Linked DNA regions of Homo sapiens: region 1 is linked to region 2. Evidence: promoter capture Hi-C in 16 types of primary human blood cells and fetal thymus (Javierre and others, 2016). All regions are on one chromosome and are shown on one strand. The core of a region is centred on a gene start or on the middle of the fragment in contact, and the rest is flanking DNA. Distances in the headings are between cores, read along the strand shown. Region 1 overlaps LPIN2 (lipin 2). Region 2 holds the start of MYOM1 (myomesin 1).

Evidence for each region. Contacts are between HindIII fragments. The CHiCAGO score rates a contact against its expected background, and 5 or more counts as called.
Region 1: a fragment that was not itself captured here is called in contact with the fragment with the promoter of MYOM1 in region 2 in 16 of 17 cell types (megakaryocytes, erythroblasts, M1 macrophages and 13 more); the score reaches 16.2 in megakaryocytes.

Annotation. Positions count from the first base shown.
Region 1 is chr18:2,928,440-2,933,607 of GRCh38, forward strand. LPIN2 (lipin 2) reads right to left here. Exons shown (of 20, transcript NM_001375808.2): 9 at 2,817-3,004; 10 at 626-719; 11 at 152-221. Among named protein-coding and RNA genes, the nearest start is that of LPIN2-AS2, 36 kb to the right of the region's middle. The HindIII fragment of the contact is 2,459 bases long and covers 2,314-4,772 here.
Region 2 is chr18:3,217,349-3,222,309 of GRCh38, forward strand. MYOM1 (myomesin 1) reads right to left here and starts at 2,620. Exons shown (of 38, transcript NM_003803.4): 1 at 2,455-2,620. RefSeq lists a silencer at 623-917. The HindIII fragment of the contact is 10,525 bases long and covers 1-3,400 here.

The sequences.
Region 1 (5,168 bases), core at 2,293-4,792, 290 kb before region 2:
GGTACATATGACTTTGATCTTTTATATTAAATATTAAGCTCAAGTAAAACTTTGAATAGTACCCAGTTCAGAAATATGCACATATGGATTTGTGTAAGTACTAGACACTGCGGATGCTTTCGGAAAGGCAGCAGATGGTGGATCGCCTCACCTTAGGCAAGCTCTTCTGGAATACTTGCAAGCTAAGGATCATGGGAGCTGCCAAAGCCCAGTTATAGTAACTGTGAGAAACAAAAATTGTGCAAAACCATTACACAGTGAAAGTGAGCAAGAGAGAGGGGAGGGAATCAGGGAGGGAGGGAGGAGGGAAGTGACATATAAAATTGCTTATTCTTTTCAATAAAGATGATCAGCTGAATTTTTTGTCACATGAATAACCTTCGCTTCAAGCACAACTTCTCTGAACAGAGAAGCCGTAAAATCTATCAAACAGAGTAACATTTCAATGCTTCTTTTAAAAATAAAATTGAAGCTTTACTTTCACTTCAAAGTCATTGCCCACTGGCTAATTTATATGAGATGACAAGTTTTATAAGAAGGAACACTTTTATAAGTAACAGTTAAAAATGGCACTTGTAAAAAAACTGCAAGAGTATTTAACAATTATAAAAGCAGGAGTATTTACCGATTATATATCCTTATTACAAGGTTAGGATTGTCTATAAGTCCAGGGTTTTCTGCAAATTCGTGATAAGTAATGATATGCTCCATGAATTTTTCTGCAATGTAAAATAATAATCAATTTGGTTAGAGATTACATAAATCCCTATATGAGATTATAATACTCTCTGCATTGCAGAAATTGAAGGCTAAAATCATCTGTCTAAAAAAACTAATTTTTGAATATTCATCAAAAGCAAAATGTCAGACGCTTTTTTTCCCCAGGACAAGAAAGAACACTTCTTTTCTATTCTCCTTTTCCACTGTCTCCCAGTGAAAACAAACAAACTAGTAAAAAGGGACATGACAGAGACTTTCAAAAAAAATACATACAGATGTGGCTAGAGAGGGACGGAAGACAGACACAGAAAGACAGACAGACACACACACACGAAAACTGTCGAAGTTCTATTCTCAGAGGAAGAAACTTTACTGACAGGCAACGGCATAACTGGGGAATATTCATAGGGGTCTTACAGCTTTAGCAAGCTACATTATATCAAAACATATCTTAAAATTGTTTGGGCCAGGCACAGTGGCTCACACCTATAATTCCAACACTCTGGGAGGCCGATGTGGGCCGATCACTTGAGGTCAGGAGTTAGGGACTAGCCTGGCCAATACGGTGAAAACCCATCTCTACTAAAAATACAAAAATAAGGCGGGTATGGTGGTGCCAACCTGTAATTCCAGCTACTTGGGAGGCTGAGGCAGGCGTGACAATCACTTGAACCCAGGAGATGGAGGTTGCAGTGAGCTGAGATGGTGCCACTGCACTCCAGCCTGGGTGACAGAGCAAGGCTCTGTCTTAAATAATAAAAACAACAACAAAAATTACATGTTACAATTGCTTGGAGAATTAAAAAAACAAAACAAGGCAAAACAAAAAAACCTAGAATTTGGCTCAAGGTCTGTGAAATAAATCCCAAGTTCTTGCAGAGTGAATGAGGGCTTCCCATGAATTTTTGTACCCTGTTCCTAAACCTGTATTCTCCTAGATCTAGGCTAACAGAGAAACTGCTCACTTGGATTGTTTCTCCAGGTAATGTGTGTATTACTTACATTTACTTGTCATTTCTGCCTCTTCCAATAAACTCTACTAGACTAAGTCACCAATATTTAAAACAAAGGTGTAACTTTTATATTTTACCTACATTTTGTATTTCGCATTCCCTCGCATATAATTTTTTAAACTGAACATTTAAGAGGATTACAGAAAGAATGTGACCTATTTAACTTAGTCCCTAGAATGAACCATTGGCCATAACACACTTTAAATTTCTTGCAAAATATAAAGCAAACAAACAATGAAGAGACAGGGAAGAGGCATAATGAGCTTCCTGTGACCCTGGAAAGGAAAGACTTCAGGAACACATGGTCCTGAGCCTCTGGCCATGCAGTCTGCCACATCACACCTTCAGTTCCTCTAAGGGAGAGGGAAGACAAAAGATGACACTAGTCACGGAAAGAAAATTTTCCCTTAGAAGAAAATCATACAGGGGCCACAGGCCAAACTGAGAAATACTAAGAGTTCAGTTTTAAAAGGAAGGTTAAAAAAAAATGCTGATGAATTGAGGACGGATGCACATGGCACTCAGCCCAGCCTATAGGCATCCTGACATGTCTGCTAAACTCCCTCCTGATTCCTGAGCAAGCTTTACTCTCGTAGGCCAACCCTCCAGCCTTATACAGAAAGTAATCCTCCTAATTTTTGCCAGAAAGACCACGTACTCAGTGGACAATCAATTTTCTACAACTTCAGGGCCCTATATTCATGTCTAAGGCCCAGTGCTTTCCAGAAGGGCAGCTGGGCCCCAGTTCCACAAATGTTTCTGTAACTTTACAGATGAGAAAACTGGTGCAGTGTGATGATCGCACCCTGGCAGCTCAGAAAACAGGGCGGCCTGATAACTCCCAACCTCTTAATTTGAAATTAGAGCCTTTAAGGGCACACTACCTCAAAGCCACTCCATAAAGAGGTGTCAATTAAGACCTTAAGTGAGGGTATAAGGGTCTGACATTACAGAACATACCTGTTACCTGCACAAGATCCCTAAAGAATGTAAATATCCTGAAATGGCTACACGGTAAGTTTTAACCAAGTGATGACCAGATTGCTCTCTGAAATGAAGATGGGGCACAAACACCCAACGTACCTTTTGAAATTTCTCCATTTTCACTGAGGCCCCCGCAAAGGGAGAGGGTAACGTCAGGCAAGTCCATGGCAGAATCTGAGAGGCACTCGGTGCCGCTATCTGCAGCTGCGCTTCCCACGGACTGTGGGGACTGGGAGCCAGAGAGTGTGTCAGACTCGGGCCACTGCCTGGAACCGGGCTCCGATTCACTGTGGACAGGGGATGGGGAAAAGATGTGCTTTATTACAACTCCTTGAATTCCTAGTTTACTGCATGGTTCTCTGGGGGCTCAAACCAAATAACACATCCGCTAAAAAGAACGGATGGACCTACAATCAGGCATAACTTTTCTTAGATAGGGTTTAGAATCATATCATAAATGACATGAAAGATAACCTAATATAGTACCAGTGAGAAATTAACTGTGAATATAGTAAATACGTCACAAAATCACCACGGTCATTCACAATAATGCAAACATTTCAACTGTGGCCTTTCTGATTTTTAATTAAAGGAGTAAAATAGTTATAAGTATTTATTTACATTTCCATGATGAAAATGACAGGGTAATTAAGAAAATCTGCTGTTTGGAAACCTTTGATCCTAACGTCCTAGAAAAAGCTGTGGCACTTTATACATCCTGTAGAAAATTACTGTAGTCCAAGGCTATATTCTTTAAAACCAAATCTTTTCTAAGTTCGCCTATTACCTCACAAAGAAGGAAGGAGAAATTAAACGAGCAAATTCTCTAGAGGCAAGACCCACCTAGAAAAAGAAATGTATTCAGAAATAAACTGGATGTAACTGTTATTCCAGGAGCTAAAGATGAGGTTACTGAATATTTTCATTTTTCAAGATAAGGCACAGAAGCCAGGTTTCAGAAGGTGATCAAGGGAAACCTTATGCAATGAAGTGTAAATTTGAGAAAGAATAATCATGAATGGCACAGCACCTTAAGTCTCACAGTCCCCAATGCTTACTACTCTATACCCTTTGAATAGGTATTTAATGTCACATTTGAGATATTGAGAATTTTCAAATTCACTTATTTTATTCAAAAAGCCAGTATTTTTATGTGAATTAAAAAAACAGTGACCCAGAGGTTTACTGGCTCTTTCAAACAAATCTCATCTTTGAGCAGTAGGTGGCAGCAGACTACAGATTATGTTTTAACTAGGTAACAGTTTCAAAACCTGTTTCCCATTTGAATCAACAAAAAAATTCAGGTTTTTGGATATTTTTTCCTCTTAATAGCCATGCACACTCATACCCACAAAATTGAGATTAACTGGACTGACAGAATGTTCTCACTGGAAACACAAAGTCAGCAGAACTGTTGTTATACTGGGAGTGAGGGGCAAGGCCAACCCTTCTGTGTTCACCACACCTGTCTCCTCTTTCTCCGGGGCACACGGCGAGGCCCCCTTGCAGTCAGGTGGGGCCACGTGAGCACATGACTGAGCCGTGAATATGGACGGAAGGCATACATGGTGCCCCTCCCCAGGGGCCCTCTCCTATGCGATGCTCATTCCTTTCTCTGCTGCCAGTAAACTCTGGACTCTGAGACCCTATGGGGATGGGAGAGCCTCAAGGTGAAAGGAGCCTGTGTTCCTGAATCCCTGTGGGCAAGGCCTCCCCCTAAACACCAACACAGAGCATTCTTCACAGGGGCAAGAAACAAAATTCCATCGTGGTAGGCCAACGAGATCAGGAGTTCCACCTCTACAGCAGCTAGTGTTACCCCAACCAGTAACAACAACATCTACACACATGGGGATGCCGTCTGACTCAGGATGCCACCAAATACAAAAGTGTGTGATTTATATTAAAGTTTAGTGATAATTACAAATACTGTAAATTTGGTAATGAAGATGCTAAGGATCATGACATGACTAATGCTTACATGGATTACAAGAGTCTCACTCACTATCTTTAAATATTTATGAAATGTTTCAAGAAATAGTTAATGAGGTAAGAAGCTTACTTAGTGCATGGACAGTGACTGTGAACAGTTAAATTACAGTAGAGTGGAGTAAGGTATCATCACCTTAGTTACTCTCCTCACTTTTTAAAAGAGAAACTAAGACATATACCGAAGGAATACCAATATAAATAAATGATTAAGGCCTGGGAAATGTGGGGGGAAAAGTGGTAATTCTATGACAGCTTATATTTGAACTTTCCTACTGTTAAAATAAAGCCGTTTCAGTTTTTTCACCTTAAAAAAATCCAACTATTACTTCAAATGAAGTAGATATGTTGAGATAAATTTAGGACAGAGCTAGAAAGGAGTTTTAAGAACTTTCCCAAAATACCTGTAAAAAATTTAAATAGCTTTATATCAATCCCATCTTTCTATTCCAAATAAAAAAC
Region 2 (4,961 bases), core at 1,370-3,869:
AAGAAAGAGATGACTCCAAGGTTTTTGCCTGAGCAATTGAAAGACAAGTTGCTATTAACTGAGATGGGGAGGAATGTGGGAAAGTATCAGTTTGGGGTGGAAGAACAGGAGATTGGTTTCAATGCTCTACATCTGAGATGCCTGTTAGACCTCCCAGAGGAGACATTTTAAGTGGGAAGCTGGATACATGACTCTGGAGTGCAGGAGAGAGGTCCAGGATGCAGATATACATTTGGGAGTCAACAGCATATAGGTGGTATCGAAAGCCAAGAAAATAGGTGAGAACCATTGTACACGGAAAAGAAAGTCCTAAAAGAAAACAGATGAGGACCATTATACACAGAAAAGGAAATTACAGGCATGGTGGCTCATGCTTGTAATTCCAGCACTTTGAGAGGCCAAGGCAGGAGGATTTCCTGAGCCCAGGAGTTTGAGACCAGCCTGGGCAACGTGGTGAGACCTTGTCTCTATTATAAAAATTTAAGATAAAATAAAATAAGTAAAATAAAGTCCTAGAACTGAACCCTGGAGTATGCTAATCTTATATATAAGCTCTCTCAAATCTCACAAACATTTCAAGCAAAGGTATAGTCTCAAACCAGAAAACAAAACAAAACAAACAAAAAAACCTGTTTGCTCTATAAGGAACATGCAGGCTTCTAGTCTCCCTACTTAAAGAGGTAAGAGAGTCGATTCCCAGGGTGACAGCTGGCATTGTGAACTTGAGCTAGCAGTTCTACTAAAAGTCAAAGGTATGTTTGTTTAGCATAGGGTGGGGAGATGTCACATGGCCTTAGCATTCTTGAATAGTTTATCCACTGAAGCAGGCCTATCAGCCACGTTGACAACCCTGGATGAAGTAATAGTTTTATAAAAGCTCCACCCCCAAGTGTTTTAATGCTGTAGAATTAGTTTTAAAGTGATCTGTTTTCTCCAAATGTCATTTTTAAAAAAATTCAAAATGAAGAATGAATCCTTCTAAACTCAGCATATTCTTTGTCAAGTTTAAAACTACTTTTTATTTAAACTATTTTAAAAGTCAGCATGTATTCCCCAGAGAAGAAAACTGAGCAAACTTCACTCCAGAAATATTTATCTTAGGGTTCATGGAAGATATCAGTCTACAGGGCATTTCCTAAGGGAAAAAAATAGCTACTAGCAAGCAACTTTGCTTCAACCCTTAAATAGATGGCTATTTTCTGTTACAAAATATGGAGGATAATTACCATGTATAATTAATAACTACTAGATGAATTTTGATAAAACAAAGGGGTTAGAAAATGTTAATACAGAATTACGTTAGGCAGTTATAAAGATATTAGAGAAGTTTCTGTTATGATACTACATTGTAACATGGCACATGTTATTTGAATGATTTTTCAAATAAATAATAAAGAAACTTGTTATGTTATAAACTAAATTCATTCCCCAGATGACTTGAAATGCTGTTATTTTCACAAAATAAAATCTTTAAATATCTTGCCCCAATACTATTTTTTACTCTCTTTATTTCTATTTCTCCCAAATACATTTATTTTTAATAATACTTACTATTCCTCTCACATAGATAGTAAGTTACAAGTAAACAGGGTTTGACTTGAAGCCCACATTGCTGATTGTCACAGCCCTGACCTCTGGAACAAAGGTACAACCACCTCCTCTTCATCAAGTAAGCCCTTGAAGTTAACTAAAGCCAGGATTAGCTCCAACACATGACGGCTGGAGTACGTTGGGAGGAAAGATGGTTTTAGTGTCTTTTGTTTCTTTAAGACCTAAATTTTCTTTCTGAAAATAATTTGAGAATTTAGGAAGAAATACAAATTCCATAGCTGTAATTTATGATACTTTTGTGCAGGCATTAGAGGGCAGAAGCTGATGAAAACGATTCCCAGAAAAATCACTATGTGGGGCTCTATGTTGCCTCTGAAATATTACTTAACCATTTGAGGCCATATCATTGTGCGCGCTCACATTTATCCACATTGCATCGTCACAGCAAGATCCCTGAATTATAAACTAGTGACTTCAGAGTTAATTTTCCTTCTTTCGGTCTAATTTGTAACCAGGGAGCATTGTATGGCACATGCAGGATTGAAAATGCAGGGCCTCCTGTCTCTCATCCATTTCAGATTTCAACCAAACCGTACTTGGAAATAGCATTAAACACACGCTTACAGTTCAATCCGAGGCAGATATGACCTCCTTACAGTTCCAGGAACAGCAGCTTAATTTCAGAAGAATACAGTGATGTGAGAGAAGAGCTGTGCCAGCCCGACTGGCACCCGGCTGTTCTGGTTTCCCTCCCTGGAGCTTCACTTTCCTATTTCTCTGTTATTCTGACATCTCTTTGAGAAAACTGCTGAGTTCAGAAGACAGAAAGAAAGCACTTACACTGCACTGCTGCTAAGCTCATAAGCTATCAAGTGCATTCTTCTGCCTCAGTGTCACACTTACCAGTTTCCAAAGGAGTAATGGTGGTGGAAATGTTCCGATGAGGCCGAGGAGCTGGATGAGAGAATGAAGACTCCACCTAGGTTGAATCCAAGACAATGTTAAGAGGCAGGGCTAAAGACAGGACCCTGGGGGCCAGTTCAAAAATAATGCATGTGGTCAGGCAGTCGAATGTCAGGCCACACAACCAGCCTTTTATGGCCAAGAAGGCAGATAAATATAGCAGCAGATGGGGAGGGTAGTTCCAAACCAGGAGGAGGAGAGGGGCATGGGCAGGTAGCAGCCTTAGTAATATAATTGCATAATGCCGGTCAATGGGTCTGGCCCGATTAAACCAAATATAGGGTTTTTATTTGGCAACAAGAGTTATTTTCAATGTCACTTTATCAGTAGATAATTTAAAAGTGTAATGGAAAGAGTGGTTTGTGTTAACAGCTAAAAATAGGTGTAGTAATATGATTCTCAAAATGGACTTCGTGGAATTTTAATGCCAAGATATGATTCTGAGTGTGCTGTTAACAACACACGTACGGTACATTTAAAAGATACAATGTGAAAAAAGAACTTGAAGCTAACTAAAGGCAAAACAAGGAAGAAATGGGTTACACGTGGTGGCGATTTTTGCCTGACATCACGGTCACTATTTCTCTCACTTCAGGAAAATTTACAAGGTTAAGTCTTAGCTTCAAGCCTGAATATGTGATTTCCTGTTCATTAACTAAAGCCTTTTGAGACGCAACTCAGTGTTTTATCTTTCCTAACTCAGAGTAGGGTCAGTCCATCTAATAAGAGATTCTCTTTCTTTGTTCTTTAAATGGTGTGACCAATTAAGAGGAGGTGTAACCCGGTTGTGAGAGCCTGTGTTGTGGATTCAGACCAGATCTAGATCCCACTATATTGATAGCACTTAGTAGCCATGTAATCTCCAGCAATTTATTTCTCCTTCCTAAGCTTCAGGTTTTTTGTCTATAAAATGGGGATAATCATATCCAAATTATAGGATTGCTGTGGTGATTAAATGTGATACTGCAGACAGAGCACTTGACCTAGTGACAGTCACATAATATAGACTCAGTAAATATCAGCTGTTATTACTGATACCAATAATATAAAAGCTCATTGTTAGATTACATGTATGCAGCAGGTTGGTATTTTGATCTACTGGCCTTATGTTCTGACAGTGATATTACATCAACTGAATAAAGGTCACCTGTGTCTATCAAAATTGTTTTTCTTTCTGAGACAGGGTCTCACTCTGTTGCCCAGGCTGGAGTGCAGTGGTGCAGTCTTGGCTCACTGCAACCTCTGCCTCCCAGGCTCAAGCAATCCTCCCACCTCAGCCTCCCGAGTAGCTACAGGCGCATGCCATCACACTCGGCTAATTTTTTTTTTTAACTCTTGGTAGAAATGGAGTTTCACCATGTTGCCCAGGCTGGTCTCAAACTCCTGGACTCGAGTAATCCACCTGCCTCAGTCTCACAAAGTGCTGGAATTACAGGCGTGAGCCACTGCACCCAGTCTCTATCAAGATATTGAACAGACTCAATATTATAGTATACTTCATCATGACTTTCTTGATGATAACTACAGTTAACACTGTTGAGGACCTATCCAGTGCCAGACACTGGGATAGGCAGTTTATATACATGATCCCACTGACTTATCATACCTTGCAAGGTACAGCTTCATTACCCCGTTGAGGAAAGCAAAGCTTCCAGAAGGGAAGGCATTTGCCAAAGATCACACAGCGGGTAGATGACAGAAACGCAACTTCATTCAGAGACATTTGATTCCAAAGCCCGTGTACTTGTAGTCATGTATTGCTGGCTCCTCCAGTGGCACTTTGATAGTAAGAAACTAGACATTTTGAAATGGCAATACGGGTCTTCACTTGTAATAGACGGTTAGCTTCTGAGCTACTCAAAGTATGTAAAAGAATCTGTTCCACCTAGTTCTGATCCAGGTACCTGTGAAATTCAACCTGGAATTTCTTCATATACATACCTCTGCTATTAGTAAGCATGTGGACATTTTAGCTATCTGGAAGCCATAGGCGAGTTTTCCAAGTGTTATGTTCCCCAAGCATCCATTTGTTCTCTAAATATCCAATACAGAATGCAGTGATTCTTCTCAAGTCTTATCCACCAGCCATTAGGATGATTCCTGGTGAGCTGTTTCTCTAGAGAACATTGGTCAATTGCCCCAAATCTTCTCAAAGCAGAAAAGAGGAAAAATAAACTTATATGCTTTTTAAAAAGTGTTTTACATTAGATGATTTTCTGGGAAATTTGAAATTAACAGCTGGCTAACCACTCCATTAAGTTTTCAGGATAATCACATATCTGTAAGGGTATCATGAGTAAGTGTAATTGACCAGAGTCCACATATATAAAGGAATCATAACTAAGTTACAATAATTGATTCATATGAGCCCAAGTTTTTCTTCTTTAGTTTTATTATCCAGTACATCACCATATGTAATTTATTATGTAGCTAGTTGTAATTCAGAT